2 separate regions of the Homo sapiens genome follow, and region 1 is linked to region 2. Evidence: promoter capture Hi-C in 16 types of primary human blood cells and fetal thymus (Javierre and others, 2016). All regions are on one chromosome and are shown on one strand. The core of a region is centred on a gene start or on the middle of the fragment in contact, and the rest is flanking DNA. Distances in the headings are between cores, read along the strand shown. Region 1 overlaps MORC1 (MORC family CW-type zinc finger 1). Region 2 holds the start of MORC1-AS1 (MORC1 antisense RNA 1).

Region 1 (4,255 bases), core at 601-3,100, 77 kb after region 2:
GATTTTTTTTCATAAGATTTAAGCCAAGGTTATAGATCCAGTTTGTTTCAAATGTAAACAAAGAAATTTAGCAGTACTTATATAGAAATTCACTGCCAGTACTTCAAAGGACATAAGAATCCACTCCATCCTCCTTTTTCCTTTTGCAAAAGGAAGATTTTACAAAATCTTTTTGTGAAAAGATTCCTAACATCTTTTACATACTTTCTGGTACTCAGGGCTTGTAACTGACCCTGCTTTTGTGGTAACCAAGGAAAGCTTTGGGTTGTGGTTCACTGAACCAAAGGCAACCAGTTAATTTTGAGGTGATCATTGAGCACATACTTGCCCTCAGGTCTGTCCCAGGCTGGGAATTATGGGAAATACAGAGTATCTGTAATACCAAAATGTAAGTTCTGTGAGAGCAGGGGTAGTGTTGGTTTTACTTACTGTGAATCTGTATTAACCAAAACAGTGCCTGGCATATACCAGGTACTCAATAGGTAGTTGAATCAATAAGTAAAACATGCCGTCAGATATTATACAGTCTTTTTGTGGATCAAGTCTAACAGCTATTTAAAAATGAGCAACCACTATAAAGTAATATTAATTCACATGTGTTTTCTTATTGTAACTGACACTGCAATAGAAGTTTACTGCAGGAGATAGTGAGGGCAGCTTCAATCAAAGAAAGTTATATAGGGGTGTTGGGCATGGTGGCTCACACCTGTAATCCCAGCACTTTGGGAGGCTGAGATGGGCAGATCACTTGAGGTCAGGAGTTTGAGACCAGCCTGGCCAACATGGTGAAACATCATCTCTACAGAAAATACAAAAAATTAGCTGGGTGTGGTGGCTCACGCCTGTAATCCCAGCTACTTCAGAGGCTGAGGTGGGAGAATCCTTTGAACCTGGGAGGCAGAAGTTGCAGTGAGCCCACGCCACTGCATTCCAGCCTGGGGGAAAGATGAGACTCTGTCTCAAAAAAAAAAAAAAAAAAAAAAAAAAGAAAAAAGAAAAAGAAACCAAAGAAAGTTATATAGGGGAAGTGATACTTGTATCTTGAAGTCTATTTAGGATAAATAGAGGGAAAAGGATAGGGCATTTCAGGTGAGAAAAACAACCTAAAGGAACACTTGGAGCTGAACACTGATTTGTTCTTTCATGGAACCAGTCACTTAAATTACATGTTAAGCTTTCATATTTTAAAAATTAAACTCAGTATTTGTGTGGCATCTCTCTTTTAAAAATGGTGTGACTTGTTACAATGATGCAACTCCCATATAGTTATAATATGGTAATTACTGAACAGAAGACCTCTGAAAGATGACCTTGATTCCTCCTTTCACAAAAATAATCCATGAACATGTTCAGAAACTATGTTTTGGTGATATTTATCTGATGTCAAAACTAAGACTAAAAACCATGCAATGTTCAGTGTAAATTTCCTGTCCTCATTCTAAAACCCTTTAGAAGTAGTTTTGGAATGTGAGATAAGAAAGGATGGGAAAGCTAGAAAAACAGGCCATCATTGGCCCCATTCAGTTTCAAATATAGGCTAGACATCACTGAAAAAATCAAGAACTGGCTAGTTTATTACTATGATTCACTGTATGTCTATTTTTGGTGTCCATTCACCCATTCAGTATCACAGAATCATACAATATATGCCATGTAATTATTATTTGCCCACCTCCTGTTTTCTCTTCCTCCATCCCACTCCCAATGACCACTTATCCATTGACCAGACCTGTGTAGTGAATATAAAAATGACCTAAACCTGCACACCCTATCTCTTAACTCTCTTGCATTTCAGCTTTAATGGTAGCAGGCATCTTGATCTGGAAAATGAAAGGTTGACCAGGTAAATCAAAAATCTTTCTGGATTTTAGGTTCTATGGGTATCTAATGATTAGATGGTAAGAGAGTTATCCTAATTATTAGATGTTGTCCCATAGGAGAAAATGAAGTAGCTAGATCTAAAGGTATCGTTTCCACATGGTATCTTATTTAATTCCTACAACATTCCAGCTAGTTATATCTATTTTAACAAAGAGGAAAGTGAAATCCAAAAAAGTTAAAAATAATTTTAATCAAAGCACGTAACTTTAAATGGTGAAGTTGGAATTTATTTCCTTTTTGCCCAATTCCAGCACCATATTTCTCGCAGTCTTATAGGAAAAATACAGACAAAAAGGACATAAGAACATTTACAGTAGCAACAAACTTATATATTGCAAATCATATTTGTTAAGGGAAATACCTAAGTTCAGTAAACCTAATAGGAGAGCTCAAATTCAAGATCTGTCACCTGTGGTGCATTTTATAGACTAAAGGGGTTGTCCTCCATGTAATTGATAAGCTATGTCAACAAGCCAAGATCCTTGTTATAAATTGTGCTTCTGAATACAACCCATCCCCATCTTTATCCTTTTGAATAGATGAATAAGTAATCTGTTTCTAACTACTTTCAGCTTCATTCCACATTACCTGCTGTTTTCTATACCGAGTGACAAGTGCCACCTGCTGGCCAAGTGATGAAGCTTTTATTTCTATTGTTTCACTGGATTGCTCAGTTGTAATTGGCATATTAGCTGGATAATTGTTATTTTTTGGTAAACCTAGGCAATAATTTAAAAACCATAATGTTATAAAATAAATTTCTCTGTATTTCAGGACCTCTCCGTTCTCAAATTTGCCTCTTTCTCAGATTTAACTTAAAATTTCTCTTCTACCTTCTATTGTGTGACAAGGATGATTGTGTCATTATCATGCACACAGAATCTAGTTTTAGTTACACTTTATTCAGGATTTTATGGTACCATCTAAAATCCACTTAATACCCTCAATCATTAAAAGACAGATCATACCTTTCTCCCTGAATTAAGCTACCCTATATTTACCCCTTTATACCTAAGTAATGTTAATGAGTAGTGTATTTGCATAATCAATATATTTCTGCAATGTGTGATGAATTGCTTATGTGTCCCCTAGGTCTTTCTGAATTAATCTTTTGTATTTACTATACATTTCTTGGCCTACAGCCCAGGCTGTCTATAATCTGACACTAGTTGCCTTTCTATTAATATAATAGCATTCGTTTCTTTCACTCTGTATGGTGCTGCTACTGAGCTTCTCCATATTTCTTACAAGTGTTCACTTCCATGTGGCTCTGCAGGCCTTTGTTTGTGCATTCTTGTCTGGAGCAGCCTCTGGTCCTTCTCCAGTCCTTCAAGATCCAAAACTATTGCCAATCCCTGTATGATTTACCTACTTAGAAAAGTATCTCCTTCATTTCATTTACCTACTTGGAAAAGTATCTCCTTCATTTACCTACTTAGAAAAGTATCTTTCATTTACCTACTTAGAAAAGTACCTTCTTCCTTCCAGTTCCCTTTGTCCCATGTGGTTTTTCTTAGAGCATGTTTTACTTCTACCTGGTATTATAGTCACTTTATGTCTAATATTATAGTTACTTATGTGTCTCATCTGTCTGCCATATCAGACTATATGCTTTTTGAAATAAAGGACTATTTCTCTTCATCTTTGCATTCCCAATAGTACCTAGGCCTGCAGCTTTCATGTAATAGGTATTTAGCAAACAATGAAGGATGGAAAGAATAATTTGATTTATGCAGAATTCCTGAAAGGTGAATATTTTATATTTGATTGGATTGGTTGACTCTACATAGGTTAGGCTGACCAACTTCTGCATATATTACTGAAGACCAAAATGTTCTTATACCTGGTCACAATAAACTGTTGTATTTGGATTGGAGTACAGAGACTGCATTTGGATTTCATTCGTCATGTTCATAGTCATCCCATCAAATATATAGCATTTATAAGACTTCATGCCTGGTGAGAAGAAACTCCAGCAATAGAATTCTGTTCTTCTTCAGTGCTCATGTGGACACACATACAGACAGAAATGAAATAGTATAATCTGGCAATTCCCACATTGATTGTTTTAGCAGTAAATGCATAACAAAGAAGGCTTGCCGAACTTTTAGCTGTGTTTTTCAGATTGAATGGCGTATCTGAGTACAGCTTTGTATGAAGAATGTGAATGCATTTTTCCATGTAGAACTTAATCTTTTTAATGTGTCATTATTGTGTAGGCTGCTGAGGTTTCAAATCTCTATAACTATAGTGACAGATGCCATAGAAAATATATTTATTCTTCAAGAGTGCTTTTCAGCCTCCTTATATAAACTGTCATGATCTAAAATTTGTGACACCTAAAGGCCCTTGTCTAACAAGAGGCTATTCTAGT
Region 2 (3,766 bases), core at 1,200-3,699:
ACTGCAGGGGGGATTCATGTTGTGTTTCCTGGATGATGGATGTGGCATGAGCCCTGGTAAGTTAATTATCTAGATACCTAACTGGCTGTTAAAGGAAACAGTCTGAAAACCTACAAAATAAATAAATTGAGCTATCTATGCAAAAACAGGTATGGAGCTATTAAAGAAAGTAAGCCCCAGACTTTTTGTTGAACTTTTTAGGTTTAAGTATCCCAGCTGGCAGAGTAAATTTATTGTAACCATCTAAACCAAGACAAAAAGTAAATGTATATTAATATTGTCAGAAAAATGAAAGGCAAATGTTACTGATTGTAAGAAATAAGCATCTGGGAATGAATGGAAAACAAATAGTCACTGAATAGACTCTGAGATTGTTTTTAGCTCATCCTTTAGGTATTGCTTGTGAGAGCCCCAGGCAGTTTCCTGTGCCTGTAGGCTATTTTTAATTTTGCTTAACCTCGAGGTAGAGGTTTCCTCTCCTTGTTTTTAGCCTTGTTTTTTCCTCTGCATTTTGAAAGCTTTACTTGCTTCAAATGAATGTTCCCATCATAAAGAATACATCTACAATATATTTCATGACTTATCTTTGTGTATTCAAGGTTAGCACAAAGCCAGCACATTATGGGTATACAGTGTCTGTGTGCTGTGAAATTGAAATGTGATTCCATCTGAGGGCATTGGGTTGTTTTAGGTATTGTATTTCTGAATTCTTTAAACATGGTGTGTTCCACAAGCCAGGGTTTTTGACCACTAGATTTAAAAAATGGTGAGAGTTCAGTAATATGGAACTGCCATGGTCAGTTCCACAACTGAGGAAAGGATGCATCAGTATGCTCAAATATTGATTTGCTGATAGAAGCTGAAGATATGAGGTATGGCAAATATCTTATTTCAGCTCTGAAGTTTCCCCTTGGTCTGAATAGTTGAAGAGTATTAGCAAGTTTAGAAAGACTGTTTCACCCAGTTTTGTTCTGACTTCGGATAATTTTGATTTTTCCAGGTCATTTTGATTAAAAGTATTCTTGGTCTTTTATTGTTTAAATGAGAAAGAAGAGTTTGTAACAACAACAGAAAAAACCCATGCTGAAAAAAGTAATTTTTCACTTCTAGCCTGAATATTAAGTTCATTTTTTTGAATTCCTAAAATAAATGACAGAATATATGTGATATATTCTAAGGGAATTCCTTATGAAAAGAAGCAACTCTTTTTATATGGGTCATGAACAAAATGTTTGAAACACAGACAAGTGACGGATATTCAGACCTTCAGAAGGAACTCACACTTCAGTTACATAGTAGCATCAACTAGTAATAAAGTAGAAGGAAGATGACTAAAAGTAGAATCTATCCGTTGTTCAAACGGAGCTAGATCAATCTTGACCCATAGAAAATGACTACAGTACTTTCCGGGTTTTTAAAAAATTCTCTAGTCTTGCCCCTTTATAGTCCATTCCCCACACAGCATCCTGAGTGATTTTCTTTCTTTTAATGTACATTTTCCTGCTGAAAATGTACATTAATATCATTTTCCTGCTGAAAACCCTCAGTGGTTTTCCATTACTTAATACAATTTGTACTCTCAGCATCTCTTCCAAGACCTTACATTATTTGGCCCTATGCACCTCTTTGGCCTTTTCTTGTTCTTCCCACTTCCTCCCTTAGAACACTCCACCCACACATGGCTGACCCCTCATCGTTTGAATCCATCTCATGTTAACCATCTGCCAGTGGCCTTCCCTGATCATTCTGTCTGCAGGCCACGTTCCTGTTAATTCTCTATCGCATTACCCTGGTTTTGTTTTCTTCACTTAATACTCAGTCAGAAATGATCTTATTTATTAGTTTACTTTCAATCTGTTTCTCCTACCATGACATAGTGTTGTCCAAGGCAGGAGCCATGCCTGGCCTGTTCAGTGGTTTATTCCCATGCTCAGAACCGGGTAACCATGCACGTGAGTTCATGTAGTGTGTAATGAACACATGGGATTTGGTTCAGAGCTATACCATGTCTGTACCAAGACTTAGAACTTTGGGTTATAATCCTAGCTGTACCCTCTATCAGCTCTGTGACCTTGGGCAGGTTTTTAAAACTCCTTAGACTTACATTTGCTCATCTGTGACATGCAGGTCATAGTAATAATACCTTTCTTGTTTTGTTATAAATATTAAATAAGCTGTGCATGTAAGTATAAACATAGTACCTAGCATATACTAAACAATCAATAAGTGTTAGCTAAGATTGTCATTATGGATATCCTTACCTAATGCCTAACCCCTCATAGGAACATATCATAGGAGGTCCAGTTAGTTTCAGAGAAGCAGAATGTTTGGTGGCTTTTACACACCTCATACCATGTGCCACTGAACTATAGCATATCTGTACCCAGACTGACAGAGGGTCCTCAGGACAATTCTTCAGCATGTATTCAGGTAGGCCAACAAGAAGAACATTCTTGGTTCTGGAGATTGGTATTAATATATTCTGAAGTCCAGAGGATTACTGTCTAGAATTCCAGAATACCTGGAGAGGTCGGGAGAATGATTTGGAACGTCTGAAATGGTTAGCCTTCTTTCCCAGGTAGTATCAGAGCAGAGGTCATCCTGCCCCTCTTAGTCTCACATGGGCCTGGTTAAGGGCTAAATTCGTGGGGAAATTACTAGTGGTACAAGTAATTATAACACTTGTAATTTGGTAACACCCACCAAGTGCCAAGTTTTGTGTTCAGGATTTCACAAATACATCATCTCATTTCATTTGTTTCATTTATCTTCATCAGCAACACCGTGATATAAGTATTACGTAGTTGCCTCTTACACCACATGGAAATTAAGGCTCAGACTTTTAAACTCTACCTAAGGCCACATGGTTAGGTCTGTCTCATCTCTTTCAGTATACAGTTGTTTCTTAGTATCTGTAGGGAATGGATTCCAGGACCTTTCTAGGATACCAAAAGCTGTGGAAAGAAGATGGCACGGTATTTCCGTATAACCTATATATATCCTCCTGTATACTTTAAATCTTTTCCAGGTTCCTTATAATACCCAATGCAGTGTAAATGCTATTAAATAGTTGTTATACTTTGTTGTTTAGAGAATAATGACAAAAAAAAAGTCTGTACGTGGTCAGTCCAGACGCAATTTATTTTTTTCTGAATATTTTCAGTCCAAGATTAGTTGAGTCTATGAATGTGGAGCCTGCCGTACCTTGGGCTGACTGTAATACCATTAAGACCCTTGTCAGAGACTGTGGATTCTGATGAAAATCCTTGTCTCTGGGCTGACCCAAGAGCTATGGGTTTGTCCTGATGTTCTGAGGAATGTGAGGTCCTGACAGCTGGGCCTCAGGCCAGTGTCAAAGAGTCTTCCTAACCACCTTAAAAGTCACTGTCAATTACAGAGGAAGCTTCAGACATCATTTACTTTGGACGATCCAAAAAACGGCTGTCAACCTTGAAGTTCATAGGGCAATACGGCAATGGTCTTAAAAGGTGAGAATTTTTTTTCCCTTAAGACATATATTATTGATACTGGGAACACTGTTTATAAAGCAATTTACACAGAATGATGCAGGCATGTAAAGCTTTAAAAAATATATAAACTTGAGGCAGGGGTGACCTACTTTGTGTTGGAATCTCCATATACAAAACTGACTTTTTTTTTTTGAGACAGATTCTCACTCTGTCACCCTGGCTGGAGTGCAGTGGTGCGATCTTGGCTCACTGCAACCTCCGCCTCCTGGGTTCAAGTGATTCTCCTGCCTCAGCCT

The links. Contacts are between HindIII fragments. The CHiCAGO score rates a contact against its expected background, and 5 or more counts as called.
Region 1: a fragment that was not itself captured here is called in contact with the fragment with the promoter of MORC1-AS1 in region 2 in 1 of 17 cell types (M2 macrophages); the score reaches 5.8 in M2 macrophages.

What each region holds. Positions count from the first base shown.
Region 1 is chr3:109,022,112-109,026,366 of GRCh38, reverse strand. All of the region lies in intron 17 of MORC1 (MORC family CW-type zinc finger 1), which reads left to right. Among named protein-coding and RNA genes, the nearest start is that of GUCA1C, 70 kb to the right of the region's middle. The HindIII fragment of the contact is 1,348 bases long and covers 1,177-2,524 here.
Region 2 is chr3:109,100,139-109,103,904 of GRCh38, reverse strand. MORC1-AS1 (MORC1 antisense RNA 1) reads right to left here and starts at 2,449. Exons shown (of 3, transcript NR_144461.1): 1 at 2,346-2,449. MORC1 (MORC family CW-type zinc finger 1) reads left to right here. Exons shown (of 28, transcript NM_014429.4): 4 at 1-56; 5 at 3,398-3,488. The HindIII fragment of the contact is 2,885 bases long and covers 521-3,405 here.